Regions from separate parts of the Homo sapiens genome. Here regions 2 and 3 are each linked to region 1. The links are contacts of gene promoters, found by promoter capture Hi-C in human tissues and cell types (Jung and others, 2019). All regions are on one chromosome and are shown on one strand. The core of a region is centred on a gene start or on the middle of the fragment in contact, and the rest is flanking DNA. Distances in the headings are between cores, read along the strand shown.

Region 1 (5,088 bases), core at 1,057-3,556:
AGGTGCAGGCTGGTGACCAGGATTAGAGGGATTGATATCTGCCAAGCTGGTGCTAATCCTCCTTCCCACCTCTTCCCCTCCAAAATCAACAAACAACTTTCCTCTGTCCCCTTTGTTCTCTGATCTTTGTTCCCTCCACACAGGTCTCAGAGCTCAGCATCCTAGAACACTTTGAGCAAGATGTCAGTCCTGGGGGGGCCAACCTCACCCACCTCCACTTGTCCACAGTTGGTGACCCAGAGGAGAGGTGCAACAGTGGAAGGTCCAAACATCAGAGCCTGTCCTGTGCCCATCTGGAGCCCCTCTCAGGGTCTGGCTGAGGCTCATCTCAGACCCACATAGGACCAATATCAACACCTGCCTCATGCTCATGTCAGAGCCCACTGGGACCAACCTCAGACCCTATATGGTGCCACTCTTATGCCCTCCTGAAGCAGGACTCTCTTATGCCCTCAATGACACCTGAGACAACACACAGAGCCCTCTTGGCACCAAACATGACTTCAATATTCTCCTGGTGTCAAGTTCAGTGCCAACTTGTTTCCCATCCTCGCATACACCTGGGGGCAGTCCCAAAGCCAACACGATGCCTTTCCCTCCCTGGACACACCTGATGCTGATATCAGAACCCGCCAATGTCATCAGTGTGTCCACTGCTGATGCCAGTCCCAGCACTCACCTCCTGCTAAGCCTGGCCTGCACTTGACTCCCAGGGTGATCTAGGCCAGTCAATGAAGGGGGGCGAGGAGAAAGTTCACATCCCAGCTCCCTCACTTACTCCCTGTGTGACCTCACTCAAGAGGATTTATGGAGTCTAGATCTGCTCATCTTCAAAATGAGGATGATCATGATGAACCAACCTCACTGTTACAAAGATTCAACCAGATCATACACACCTAGACTTAATCTTCCCATATATGACCATGCTCACCAAAGGGTAACTGTCCTGTTTACTAAGGAAGAATTTCCTTGAGGGAAGGACAGGAGGGCTACTCATCCCTTCTCCACTCACACCCACCCCAGGATCTGCCTCTGTGCCTAATACTGGAGTTTACCCCAATCTCTTCTGCGATTGTTCCCTCTGCCTACTAATAGTAGTAGCCCCTGACAAAGCAGGAATCGCCCTTAAAGGAGACTTAACTCACCCTCAAACGTGGTCTTCTCTTCCCAAACACTCCCTTTCCACTGGCAGGAAAACCAAATCCAGAAAGTGGAACTAAAGACGCAGAGCAAGAGAGATGGGAGTTCAGGGCCACTCACACATGTCCCCTGCCCACTGTCTGTTTTCTGTCCTCTGTAGATCTTTATATAAAATGAGAAACATAAATAACAATCATAGTATTAATAGGGATGATACAATCAATCTAGTGGGTTTCCCTAAGAATCTGGGTTGGAAACCAGTGGAGTTCTTCGTAAATTACAACCCTTGGGACACTTGAGATTTTTCCAGCATTTGAGGGTTGTTATTACTATTTCTCCAGACCTAGCCAATCCCCTCTGCCAACTGGTAACATGAGGTACTCTTCTCCACGTGTGGGGAAAGTTCCTCTGAAATATGGCTCTCGTCTTCTGCCCCTTTCCCAGCCAGAGATGGGCAGCGGAGGTTCTATGGCACCCATCCTGGCCTCACTCTGAGGTTCCAATGAGGATTCTGGGCATCAAGAGACAGCTCTGGGTCAAAGCAAAATCAAGTCAGTCCCTGGGCCCAGTGCTGGGCTGCTGGGCTTTCTGGGAGCACCTGCTGGGCTTGCTACACACTCCACCTCCCAGAAACTCCACACCCACAGCCCTGGGTCTTCCTAGCCCCAAGACTTTCAAGTCCATATGCCTGGAATCCCCCGTCCTGAGACCCTTAACCCTGCATCCTCCACAACAGAAGACCCCCAGATGCACAGCCACACTTCCATCTCACCCTAGTAAAACCCAGACCTTTGGATTCCTCTCCCGTGGAATGCCCAAATCCACAACTTTGGGGTGCATTCTCACTCCCAGATCCCAAATCCAAAGTCCAGGTGCTCCCCTGTGCAAATATTCCAAACTCCTCAGTTCCACAGTTTATCTGTTGCCCGCTCCTAAATCCACAGCCCTGCAGCAACCCTCCTGAAGTACCAGATTTAGTCTGGAGTTCCCCTCCCTGTTCAGCTTCCCTGGGGTCCCTCTCCTCCTCCCTTGCTGGCTGTGTCCTAAGCTGTGTGGGATTCAGGGTTGGGGTGTAGTTGGGAGGTGAAATGAGGTGATTATATAATCAACCAAAGTCCATCCCTCTTTTTCAGGCAGTATAAAGGCAAACCACCCCAGCCATCACCATCTATCATCCCACTGCCACCATGCTGGCCTCAGGGCTGCTTCTGGTGACCTTGCTGGCCTGCCTGACTGTGATGGTCTTGATGTCAGTCTGGCGGCAGAGGAAGAGCAGGGGGAAGCTGCCTCCGGGACCCACCCCATTGCCCTTCATTGGAAACTACCTGCAGCTGAACACAGAGCAGATGTACAACTCCCTCATGAAGGTGTCCTAAGGCAGGGAGATGGGTGGCACGGGGTGGGGGCTGCCCAGTTGGCTGGGGCTTTGTGGCAGGGGATTGACCAGTGTGGACCAGAGTCTTAGGAAAGGGAGTCTTGGAGTTTCAGCATCAGGGTCCTAGCAGGAAAGACAGGATCTTGGGATGTCCAGCTCCCTGACTGTGAGAACCTGGGGGCGAAGCATCCCAGTACATGATATCTCAGTGCTGGGCCCATTCAGAGTGGGGGCTGCTCCCTCTAACCACTCCCACCTGCCTCCAACAGATCAGTGAGCGCTATGGCCCTGTGTTCACCATTCACTTGGGGCCCCGGCGGGTCGTGGTGCTGTGCGGACATGATGCCGTCAAGGAGGCTCTGGTGGACCAGGCTGAGGAGTTCAGCGGGCGAGGCGAGCAGGCCACCTTCGACTGGCTCTTCAAAGGCTATGGTGAGGGGGTGCCCAAGAGGGGGAAGGTGGCCAGGTGGATGCAATGGTCTCCGTGTCCCCAGCCTTCTCCCTGACTCTCCTGCCCACTGGAGGCTATGGCAGAGCCCCCTGTCTGGTCTTCTCTCCCCATCTCCCTTCATCGTGGCCTCTCCCTGTGCGTCCCTCACCTGTCTCCAGCGTCCCTGTCGTGATTCCTCCCTGCCTCTCTCTGCCCCGTCTCCTCCTTCTCTCTCACTGGAGTCTCCTCTTTCCCCTCTCTCTCCATCTCTGAGGACATCCTGGGTTTCTGTTTTCCAGCCCTGGTCCTCTGTCTTCATTTGTCTTTTTGTCGCTCTCGGCTTCTGTGCTTCTCCGTGTTTCTCCTCTCTCTGCTTCCCTCTCCCACTTCTTCCTCTGTCTTAGGATTTCAGGGTATTCCTACTTCCACATCTCCAGCCTCCAACTCCTGGTAATTGTCTGTCCTCCTTCCCGATCCTCTCTGTTTCTGTCTCCATATTTTTCTCTCTTCTCCAGTTCAGCTTAAGAATCTTTCACCATTTTTATTTCCTCCTCCCAGATCTCCCCATATCTCACTTCCCCTCCCTCCATCTCTCTCTTTCTCTCCCCACTTCCTTCCCTTCCTCCATGGAGTATCCCCGTATCCCTCTGTTTCTCTGCATCTGTCTGTCTGGCCTTTCTGCTTCTCTTCTGATTCTCTTATTCTTTCTACCCGGTCTCTCTCTCTCTCTCTCTCTCTCTCTCTCTCTCTCTCTCTCTCTCTCTCTCTCTCTCTCTCTCTCTCGTGCTCTCGTGTTTCTCTGACTGAGTTTGCAGCTCTCCTGGGCACTCGCGCTGAATCCATCTCTCTCCCACCCCACTCCCTCTCTGCTCCACCCTTGGGGAGCCCCTTGGAGCTGGTCCGCTCCTGCTCCCGCCGCCCCCTGACCTCTCTCCACCCCCGCGTTCACCTCCCCAGGCGTGGCGTTCAGCAACGGGGAGCGCGCCAAGCAGCTCCGGCGCTTCTCCATCGCCACCCTAAGGGGTTTTGGCGTGGGCAAGCGCGGCATCGAGGAACGCATCCAGGAGGAGGCGGGCTTCCTCATCGACGCCCTCCGGGGCACGCACGGTGAGTAGGGGACCCCGAGTGCGAGGGCGGGAACCCGCGCTTTCTGCCTGGGGATGGGGACTAGGTGGGGAAAGGGGCCCGCACTTCCAGCCCTGGAGTCTGGCGCTGGGATTCGGCTCAACAGGGCCCTGCCTCCTGGAATTCTGACTCTCCTCAGACCTCTGAGTTGACTCTCTCCCCAACCCCCTTCTCCCGCCACACCTGCAGGCGCCAATATCGATCCCACCTTCTTCCTGAGCCGCACAGTCTCCAATGTCATCAGCTCCATTGTCTTTGGGGACCGCTTTGACTATGAGGACAAAGAGTTCCTGTCACTGTTGCGCATGATGCTGGGAAGCTTCCAGTTCACGGCAACCTCCACGGGGCAGGTAACTGGCTGCAGCCCGCCAGTGACGCCCCTACCACAACCTGCCAACTGCTCCCCTACCTGGAGACAGGTGCCCCAAACTCCCACCCCCCTCCAGACAGTGTCCCCTCAAAATCAGTCCCCGATATTGGACAACTGGACGGTTGCACCAGAACCCAGGAGGGATGCCCAATACCCAGTCTCCAAGGACACCTGGATAGCTCAACAGATGATCCCCAAAACAGAGCCTGCTGGCAGGATGCATACCCTCAGCTCAGCTCTCTCACCTGGGCACATGTTCCCATCCCCAACTTACCGTAATTTGTAACAGGTGCTCCCTACCCAGTTCTTCTGAATATTTTAACACCTGGACAAGTGACTGCGTCAACCCGCCTCCTGCATACCTGAACACCTGGTGCTGCAAAATCCAGCCCATCATAATCATTTCACATCTACACAAATGTCACAGATTAGCCCACTGGAATATCTGGCCAAGGGCCCTCTACTTCACCCACTTAAATGCCTGAAAACATGGACAGGTGCCCTAACCAATACCCTAAACACATAAATATCTAGATAGATTATTCCCTGACACCCAAATAAGTGTTCCCCAACCCTTTCCAATCACACACCTTACAGAGGTGCTCCCAGTGCATCCCACTTGGATAGGTAAACACCTCAACAGGTATC
Region 2 (5,088 bases), core at 844-3,343, 430 kb before region 1:
TTTACATTTTCTCTTTCTTTTTTTTTTTGATGGAATCTCACTCTGTTGCTCAGGCTGGAGTGCAGTGGTATGATCTCGGCTCACTGCAACCTCTGCCTCCCGGGTTCAAGCCATTCTCCTGCCTCAGCCTCCTGAGTAGCTGGGACTACAGGCATGTACCACCACATCTGGCTAATTTTTTTTTTTTTAGTAGAGACGAGGTTTTGCCAAGTTGGCCGGGCTGGTCTCAAACTCCTAACTTCAGGTGATCTGCCCGCCTCGGCCTCCCAAAGTGCTAGCATTACAGTTGTGAGCCACTGTGCCAGGCCTTTTTTTTTTGTTCTTGTTGCCCAGGCTGGAGTGCAGTGGCATGATCTCGGCTCACTGCAACCTCCACCTCCTGGGTTCAAGTGATTCTCCTGCCTCAGCCTCCCGACTAGCTGGGATTACAGTCATGAGCCACCACACCTGGCTAATTTTTGTATTTTTTTTTTTAGTAGAGACAGGGTTTTGCCATGTTGGTCAGGCTGGTCTTGAACTCCCAACCTCAGGTGATCCACCCTCCTTGGCCTCCCAAAATGCTAAGATTACAGGCGTGAGCCACTCCGCCCAGCCCAGTCTTTTTACATTCTTAACTGAAGAAAAATGGGTGCCCTTCAAAGATTTTAAGATTAGGAAACAAAAAGTCAGAAGGAGCCAAATTGGGACTGCCAAGTGGATGCCTAATAATTTCCCATCAAAACTTGTAAAATTGCTCGTTTGATGAGGAGAATGAGCAGAAGCGTAGACATGCTGGAGAAGAACTCTCTGGTGAAGCTTCCCAGGCTTATTTCTACTAAAGCTTCGGCTAACTTTCTCAAAACACTCTCATAATAAGCAGATCTTATTATTCTTTGACCCTACAGAAAGTCAACCAGCAAAATGCCTTGAGCATCCCCAAAAACTGTTGCTATGACCTTTGCTCTTGACCAGTGTGCTTCTGCCTTGACTGGATCACTTCCCCGCTCTTGGCAATCATTCTCTGATTACGATTTGTCTTTAGGATTGCACCCGTGAAACCATGTATCATTTCCCGTTACAATCCTTCAAGGAAATGCATTAGGATCTCGATCTCACTTGTTTAGCATGTCCATGGAAAGCTCTGCTCTTCTCTGCAGCTGATCTGGGTGCGACCGTTCTGGCACCCATCGAGTGGAAAGTTTGTTTAGCTTTAATTTCAGTCAGAATTGTGTAAGCTGAGGCCGGGTGAGGTGGCTCAAGCCTGTAATCCCAGCAGTTCGGGAGAATGAGGCAGGAGGATCACTTGTGTCCAGGAGTTCAAGACCAGCCTGGGAAACCTAATGAGACCCCCATCTCTACAAAAAATACGAAAATTTAGTGTCAGGCCTCTGAGCCCAAGCTAAGCCATCATATCGCCTGTGACCTGCACGTATACATCCAGGTGGCCTGAAGCAACTGAAGAGCCACAAAAGAAGTGAAAATAGCCTTAACTGATGACATTCCACCATTGTGATTTGTTTCTGCCCCACCCTAATGATCAATGTACTTTGTAATCTCCCCCACCCTTAAGAAGTTTCTTTGTAATTCTTCCCATCCTTGAGAATGAACTTTGTGAGATCCGCCCCCTGCCCGCAAAACATTGCTCCAAACTCCACCGCCTATCCCAAAACCTATAAGAATTAATCATAATCCCACCACCCTTTGCTGACTCTCTTTTTGGACTCAGCCTGCCTGCACCCAGGTGAAATAAACAGCCTTGTTGCTCACACAAAGCCTGTTTGGTGGTCTCTTCACAGGGACGCGTGTGACACTTAGCTGAACGTGCTGGCACGCACCTGTAGTTCCAACTACTTCGGAGGCTGAGGTGGAAGGATCGCTTGAGCCCAGGAGGTTGAGGCTGCAGTGAGCCACAATCTCACCACTGTACTCAGCCTGGGCGACAGTATGAGAACCCTGTCTCAAAAAAAAAAAAAAAAAAAAAGAAAAAAGAATTGTGTAAGCTGTACCAATTGAGATGTCTATGGTGTTGGCTATTGTTTCTGCTGTTAACTGTAAGTCCTCTTTAATTAAGGCATAAACAAATTTAATTTTTTTCTGCAAAAATTGATGTGGATGGTATGCCACGGTGGGCTTCATCTTCAGCATGACCCAGGCTGGAGTGCAGTGGCGCAATCACGGCTCACTGCAACCTCTACCTCCCAGACTCAAGTGATCCTCCCACCTCAGCCTCCTGAGTAGCTGGAACTACAAGTGTGCACCACCACACCCAGCTAATTTATGTATTTTTTGTACGGATGGGGTTTCACCATGTTACCCAGGCTGGTCTCGAATTCCTGAGCTCCAATGATCCGCTGGCCTCAGCCTCCCAAAGTATTGGGATTACAGGCGTGAACCACCACGCCCGAACTTGTCCCTTCTTAAAACGAGTTATCCATTTGTAAATGGCTGATTTCTCTGGGGCACTGTCAAGTTTTTGGAAAACATCAATGATTTCATCATTCTTCCACCCAAGCTTCACCATCAATTTGATGCTTGTTCTTGCTTCAATTTTAGAATTCGTGTTGCTCTGATAGGGGCTCTTTTCAATCTGATGTTTTATTTTAGTGTCTCAAACTAGGTCCTGTTCAGACAAGTTATAACAAGTTAGTATGAATTTATTTTGGTGCAAAAAAAAAAAATTGAACTCCATGCATAGTTTTTTCATAATACACATTTTCCATGAATTTTTGGAAGACCCTTCTTTTTCTCTCTTTTTTTTTTTTTTTTTTTTTTCTGTAGAGATGGTCTTGTTCTGTCACCCAGGCTGGAGTGCAGTGGCACAATCATGGCTCACTGCAGCCTCGACCTCCTGGGCTCAAGCAATCCTCCCACCTCAGCTTCCTGTTACTGGGACTATAGGTGTGCACCACCACACCTTGATAATTAAAAAAAAAAATTTTTTTGTAGAGATCGGGGTGGGGGGGGGGGTCTCACTATATTTTCCAGGCTGGTCTTGAACTCCTGGCCTCAAGTGACCCTCCCCAATCAGCCTCCCAAAGTGCTGGGATTACAGGCACAAGCCACAGTGCCTGGCCAATAAATGTTTTTTGAATGAATGAAGAAATTAGTGCATGGACATATTTTCCCATCAGCTATTACAATAACCAGACTCTGAGTTCCCTGAAGGCAGGGCCTGTGAGTTTCATTGTGTACCCTCAGCCCTCAATAGCTGATAAAAATAAATATTCAGAAAATGCTTGTAAAATGAAGAAGAGAATATGTATGGGACAGAAAGTAGACCAGTGGTTGCCTGGGGCTGGGACAGGGAATAGGGAGCGACTGCAAATGGGCAGAAGGGATCTTTTCAGAGTGATGGAAATGTTCTTGAATTGGCTGTGATGGCTGCAGAACTGTAAAATCACCCAAAATCAGTAAATCACTTATAATAGGTGAATTTTATGACAGGTAGATTATACCTCAGTAAAGCTGTTAAAACAAAACCAGTGTTGAGGGAGGAAATAAATGTTACCTTGGTAATACTGAGGACTCAGTAGTTATCAAGACAGCTCTCTTCCCTGCCCTCATGAGGTTTTCTGTGCAGGGCGGGGACGCCGACCCATTATAGACAGTGACAGCCTAGAGCCATCACGGCGGGATGGTGGGGAGGGGACAGGCAGAGGGGTGGGAGGCCAGGATGGGGGAAGCCCGGGCAGAGAGGTTGGGCTGGAATGGGGGGCACAGGCAGAGGGGTCGGGGCGGGGACTGGTGAGGTGCAGGCAGAGGGCAAAGGGGTCGAGGTCCAGATGGGAGATGTACAGGCAGACGGATCCGGGCCAGGGCGGGGAGGTACAGGCCCAGTTGAGGAGCATAAGGAACCATAGGAGCCCAAAGGAGGCGCCCGACCAGTCAGGGAGGACTTCCCAGAGGGGTGAATGGCTGAGCCAGGGCCTGAAGTATAATGTTCATGAATGCGACAGCAATTTTTTTTTTTTTGAGACCGAGTCTCCCTCTATCACTGGAGTGCAGTGGCTCGATTTCGGCTCACTACAACCTCCACCTACCGGGTTCAAGCGATTCTCCTGCCTCAGCCTCCCGGGTAGCTGGGACTACAGGCGCCCGCCCCCACGTCCGGCTAATGTTTGCATTTTTAGTCGAGACGGGGTTTCGCCATTTTGGCCAGGCTGGTCTTGAACCCCTGACCTCAGGTAATGCACCTGCCTCGGCCTCCCAAAGTGCTGGGATTACAGGCGTGAGCCACCGCGCCCAGCACAATTTTAATTTTTCTTAAACACTTTTCCTGCCTTAGCAAAGTCTTGGAGGGGCGGCCGCCCAGGCGCCGCGAGCGCAAGACCACGAGGGGGCGCTGCTTCACCACGCTAGAGGAGCGCTCCCGGCAACCACGTGGCCCCACAGGTGCGGGAGGTCGGCGAGCGCGCCTGGAGGGTGGACGGGGTAGGTTACGGCCAGGCAGCCCGGGGTGGCGCGTGGCCCTGCGCAGGGCAGTGGAAGCAGCGGGCCCCAGGGAGCATGAGACGCCGCGCTCCGTGGGGCGGTCCCAGCGCTGTGCAGCGAGGGGCCAGGGCTGTCCCCGGTCCTGCGCGGCCGGCTCCCGGAGAAACTGTGGCCTCCTGGGGGTGGAGCTTTAAAAAACAAAACAAAACAAAACAAAATCACCCAACAGGAAGCGGGGTGGGGGCGCCCGGCTCTGTCACCCGTGGAATGCATCAAAATAGCCTGCGCGGCCGGGGGCGGTTCCGGGAAAGGGGGCGGCCGCGAGGGGCGGGGCTGCAACGGAGGGCGGAGCTTCCCAAAGAACGGGAGAGAGGAGTGCAGAACCGGCCCCAGGGGGACGTCCTCCTGTTCCCCCAAAATGACCTCGATAGGCGTTTGTGTGGGATGGGGTTCCTGGGTAGGGCGGGGCTTTCCAGTGCGATGTCCCTGGTCTATTCTTAGCGGGCTGAAACCTGGAGAAGTGGGAGTGGGCGGTTGATCCGGGTTCCAGGGCCTCTTTGGAGCGAAAAGCTCCGTGGAGAGCCAGAGTCTCCATCCTGGGCGTGGGAGGGAAGATGGGAAATGGGCCAAGAGGAGCCTGTGGGAGGTCCTCCCCGGGACGGCCCCCTTCCATCTGCA
Region 3 (5,088 bases), core at 792-3,291, 400 kb before region 1:
GATGACATAGACACAGACATCTATAGTCACCCAGGGTCAGACATGCAGGTCAAACACAATAATATGGAAGCCATAATCATATACACACCCCTACAAACATAATTTCCTGGCACCAGCACGGAGACACATCCACAGCTTTAGTCACACACAAATAATCCCTCTAAATAGCCAGGGTTTCAGACACCAAGTCAAATACATAACCCAAATCACACATGCAAGGCTAGAAATACACACAATCACTCGTTATCACACACACTGCTAGATACAGTCATTTATATTAATACAACCTCAGTCACACACTCAGACATGGTTCTGCATACGCAACCACTGTCATACACAATACTGTCACACAACCCCAGTCACACAGATACAATGTGACTTCAGACACAATGGCAGTCACACAGGCAGAGTTGCACAGACAGGTGTGTGTCACTCACGTATATAAAATCAGGTAGAGACACAACTATAAACATTGTCAGTCACTGGGAGGGTCACACATGCACATGGAGCCATAGACAACTCCACTCACACACAGTCACAACTCCACCCACGTCCTGTCAGTCACACGCATGCCCACCCCCAGACTCAACACATACTGTCACATACCCAGTTATAGTTACCGAGGCATACAAACACAGGGTCACAAAAGACACAATCACAGACAACCACAGTCACAACCATGCACACCTCCAAACACAGACAGACTAAAAAGTACAGGATTCTGCACAGTGAGCAGCTGTCACACACACATACACAGTCACACAGATACTAGGGTCACAGACACAATCATAGACACCACCACAAGCACACACACACGACACAGGATTCCTCAGTCACCAGCTGCAGCGTACGCGTGCACACACACACACACATACACAGCCACAGTCACACAAACACAGGGCACACTCCTAGCCACCTCCCCATCGCTTGCTTCCCCCCTTCCCCCCAGGTACCACACACAAAGCCGCCGTCACCGTCACCGCAGACACTGCAGACAGACAGGGCTGCACCCGGTCCCTGGGGAGCCGCCCCCAGCCCAGCCTGTATCCTGGAGCCTGAGGGCCAGGTCCAGGAGGGGGAAGCGGTGCATTGTCTGCGGGTGGGGCCACTCTTGGACAGCTGGGCAGCCCTGGGGACAAAGGGGGTGGCCTAGGGATCCTGTGCCCTGGGACCCATGACCAAGCCAGGGGGTGGAGGGATTGGGGGTTGCCTGAAATTGTCCTTATTTTATTCAGGCTGGGGTGGGGTGGAGTCCCAGGCACAGGGACCTTGTTTTGAGAAGTGGCTGTGCCTGGGACTCCGCCCAAGGATTGGGGGGATGCTGTGCCCAGGGTGCCTCTGAGACCTGGGGGCAGGCTGTGCTTGGAGTCCCCCTAGGCCTTGGCGTGGTGGGAACGCTGTACCCAGTGACCCCATCCTCGAGACCGTACCTAGGCAGTTGTTGTGCTGAGACCCCCTTAGGCAGGGAGAGGTAGGGATTGTGTCTGGAATCGCGTCCTGGAGGCCTTGGTTTGATACGGGGGCTGTGTCCCCGACCCCATCTCCATCCCCATCTAGTTCTAGGAGTTGTACCTAGAATCTCTGTACCCCTGTCCTTGGTTTTGTGGGGGGTCTGTGTCCAGGATCCCTATTTCCAGGGCCTTGGCAAGAGATGGCCCAGGGGTCTGTGCCCAAGACCCCGGTCTCCTGGGCTTTGGCTTGTTGGGCCTGTTCCTGGACCCCCACCCGGGACCACCCTCTCCAGCCTTGGCACCCTCTCTCCATCCGGGCGCCGCGGCCGCCTCCCACCCTCCGCCACATCAGCAGCGGCGCCGCCCCCGACCCGAGCCCCCCTCTCCCGCCCTTCTCACGCTGGCCGCCGCGCTGCGGGACATCCAGGGCCCGGGCGCCCCCGCCTCCCGCGGCCCTGGCTGGGCCTGGCTCCCCGACTGCTGCTGCTGCGGTGGTGGCGGCGGCAGCTCGGTCTGACGCCGGCCAGGGCCCGGGGCCGGGGGATGGTGCGGGATGCACGCGCGCGAGCCTCCTCGGCTCCCGGGAGGATTCCGTTCCGGGGGCGGGGGAGCGTCCCTCGGCCTCGGCTCCCCGCCCCGACCCCGCCCATTGGCCCGCCGCCTGCCGTATATGCAGAAAGGTCCCGCCCCGCCCCGCCCCTTGGCCTGAAGACCCCGCCCACACGCAGACACCATCCCGCCTTCCCCGGCGCGGCCACCGCCCCGCCACGCCCATTGGCCAGTCCCGAGCTGAGCATGCCTATGAACATCGCCGAGTCCTTTCCCCCGGTCCGTCCTGGCCTGGGCTCCCTTTCCCTCCGTGACACCTGACCTCAGATCCCCTCCAGCTCCGCGTCCGAAAGAGTTGCTTCTAGAGGCGCCTTGCCGCCCCACACCCCCAAATCTTCCCGCTAACCCCATGGTTCCCCAGCCCGGCGGGGGCGGGCAGGAGCGGTGACGAGGCACTTTTTGCAAGGAAGGGGAGGGGGTGTGAACAGACCAAGGCGTCCTGATGCGCGATCGGTTCGGCTTTGGGAACGGGGGCGCCGGGGTGGGACCAGGGCGCGGTTCTGGCCGCTACGGCGCCCCCGCCGCCCCCTACGCCAATCCTGTGGGTTTGGCAAAGCAGCTGGCAGGGACATTAGAGCCCATTAGTAAAGGCGAGGTTGCCAGGAGTGAGGGGAGGGAGCCCGCAGCCAAGAGGCACTGTGTGTGTGGGAGGCCTCAGCTGCCACAGCCCTTAGAGCAGGTGGTCAGCACGTGGGGGGGGGTGGGGAAGGCGAGAAGGAGGTTCCCGGCAACAGATGGCACAGGCAGGGCTGAGGCTTTCAGACAAGGGGGTGCAGGGGGGCTGGCCATCTGCACCTGGAGGCCGCTGGCGAGCTCCTCCCCCTCTCCCCCCAACCCTAGCGCAGAGAAAAGAGCTGGGGGAAGGGGAGGGCTGCTTTTATTCCGATTGAAGATTCAGCTCCCCCCCACCCCGCACCCCTACCTCTCCAACACACTGAGAGGCTGGAACCCGGGAGAAGGCAGCTGTTGGAGGAGCGAGGGAGGCAGAGGTGAGGACTGCCTCCAGGACCATCTCGCCTTCCACGGGAGGCTTGAGGCAGAGGTGAGGGCTCCCCCTGATGAGTCTGATCTGCATAACGACATGCAGCGGCCCAAGGCTCCCTCAAATGTTGGCAAAGATAAGTTAACCGCTTCCCTGGCTTAGTTTTCGGATACCCACTTTCGAGTGGGGAGGTGCAGGATCTAGGGCACGAAGTTGGGAGTTCCCCAGCCCCAGGGATCCTGAGCTCCTGGGCCAAGGAGGAGAGCCAGGCAAGACTGGGAAGCCCAAGGGGGCTCCTCTGACCCAGGGCAGACGGGGAAGGGATAAGAGGCACTACAGCAGGGTACGGCCTGCTCTGGGGACTGAATCCCCCATGGAGGCTGTCATGAGGGATCCACCCAGGAGTCCCCTTTGGTGGGGAGGCTGCCGGCAGTGGCTGCGTCTGGCTGGCGACTGGCCCAGTAGCGGTGGTAGGTGTCCTGGAAGAGGTCCCTGCAGGCGATGTGGGCTCGGAGGTGGGCACAGGCCAGGAAAGCCCCTGCCAGCTTGCGGTGCAGGGCATAGGTCTCCTCGGGTGGGGGACACAGCCGGTGCCGCAGCAGCACCGGGATGAGGTCCTGTATGCGGCGGGCCGTTTCCCCCGACCCAAAGTCATAAGGGCCCTGGGTGGCGAAAGGCTCCCCCAGGATCATCACTGCCTCCACGTGGGCGTCGGAGAATGCCTGGGAGTGGGGGTGGGGGGAGAGCAAAGGCAGCCAGTGTGGACATAGAGCCCTCTGCATAACCCAGAAACAACGTGTAGCCTCCACTCCCTCCAGTCTCCACCATCAACACAAGCCCCGACTCCCCCAAGAGTGAGCAGCTTCCACTCCTTCCAGAGCCTGGACTAGACAAGCAGCTGCCTATTCCCCGAGTAAGCACCCCTTACTTCCCTGCAGAGCCTCCAACAGACAAGTAGCCCTCTACTCTCTCTACAACAGAGAAGCGGCCTTCGCCCCTCCTGAACAGATCCACGGTGCCCATGTTCCCAGGGTTCCTGAGAAGTCAGGCAGCCACCTCCCCCCACTCCTCCCCAAAGCCCCCAGCATGGATAAGCATCCCTCCTAGAGTCACCCACTCCCCAGGTATAGACACACAGCCTCCATTCTCCCTAGTGGAGACAAGCCCCTCCTAGAGTCCCCCAGTCCCCGGGTATCGACATGCCCCATCACCTACTCGAGTTCCTCAGTGGAGATAAGCAGCCCCCCACTGCACCCCACCAACAGACACCAGCCCCTTTCTCCCCCAGTGTCTCCCCACCTTGGTTTCAAAGCCTGTGAGGAATTTGAGGTCCCTGGACTTCTGCAGGACACAGTCTCTGTCTCCATCAGCTGCAGCCTTCACCACCTGGGGAGACGGGTGGGAGTTAGAGGGACAAAGGCCGGGGCTCAAGGGGGCTCTGGAGAAGAGGAGCTGGAAGCCTGGGCCTCCCATGTACCCACCTCCATTCTCATCTGCCTGGGCCCTCCCTCACCTGGAAGCTTCCTGCTCCCAACTTTGCCTGTCTGTGACTCCCTTAAAGACTCTTCCAGAGCCTGGGAGTGGAGGTGGTTAGGGATCCTGCCCACCTAGAGGGCAATGTGGGGCCTGCCCGGGAACTGCCACAGTGAAACAGTGCAAGAAACAAGTGTCAGGGCTGCTGGTGAGTCCAAACACTCAACTGGACGGGTATGAGCGTGACCCAGAACTGCATCCAAAGTTGCCAGGGGCCATCTCTCTGTCTCCCACACTGGACTTTGAGCCCCGTGAGAGCAAGGATCCCAGTTGGGTTTAGTCGCACGGGGCACAGGGTCTGGTGCTGAGGAGGCCCTGGGTGAACCTTGCTTTAGCAAATGAGCGTGTGGAGCAGAGCAGCTCTCCAGCCATGAGCTCACACACACAGGGCAGGAGTTGTGGGCATGGAGAGATGCCCAGCTGGGGCCAGCTGGCTAGGGTTCCGTCCCAGCTCTGCCACCTGCCGGCCTGTTGGGCCTCCACTTTCTCATCTGTGAAGTGGGGATGCCAAAA

The links. The method cuts DNA at HindIII sites, captures the fragments that hold promoters and counts their contacts. A contact is called where the count stands out against the background at its distance.
Region 2: a fragment that was not itself captured here is called in contact with the fragment with the promoter of CYP2A13 in region 1 in 3 of the 25 tissues and cell types used here (aorta, dorsolateral prefrontal cortex and spleen).
Region 3: the fragment with the promoter of NUMBL here is called in contact with the fragment with the promoter of CYP2A13 in region 1 in 1 of the 25 tissues and cell types used here (heart left ventricle).

What each region holds. Positions count from the first base shown.
Region 1 is chr19:41,086,145-41,091,232 of GRCh38, forward strand. It overlaps CYP2A13 (cytochrome P450 family 2 subfamily A member 13), which reads left to right and starts at 2,307. Exons shown (of 9, transcript NM_000766.5): 1 at 2,307-2,507; 2 at 2,785-2,947; 3 at 3,903-4,052; 4 at 4,260-4,420. The coding sequence starts at 2,328. The HindIII fragment of the contact is 9,937 bases long and covers 1-5,088 here.
Region 2 is chr19:40,658,616-40,663,703 of GRCh38, forward strand. No RefSeq gene overlaps it. Among named protein-coding and RNA genes, the nearest start is that of NUMBL, 29 kb to the right of the region's middle. RefSeq lists a silencer at 4,303-4,582. The HindIII fragment of the contact is 4,666 bases long and covers 1-4,426 here.
Region 3 is chr19:40,688,610-40,693,697 of GRCh38, forward strand. It overlaps NUMBL (NUMB like endocytic adaptor protein), which reads right to left and starts at 2,042. Exons shown (of 10, transcript NM_004756.5): 1 at 1,851-2,042. The coding sequence starts at 1,874. COQ8B (coenzyme Q8B) reads right to left here. Exons shown (of 15, transcript NM_024876.4): 14 at 4,342-4,428; 15 at 2,921-3,764. The coding sequence ends at 3,426. RefSeq lists enhancers at 333-1,272, 946-995, 2,211-3,148 and silencers at 1,835-2,174, 2,495-2,734. The HindIII fragment of the contact is 7,396 bases long and covers 1-5,088 here.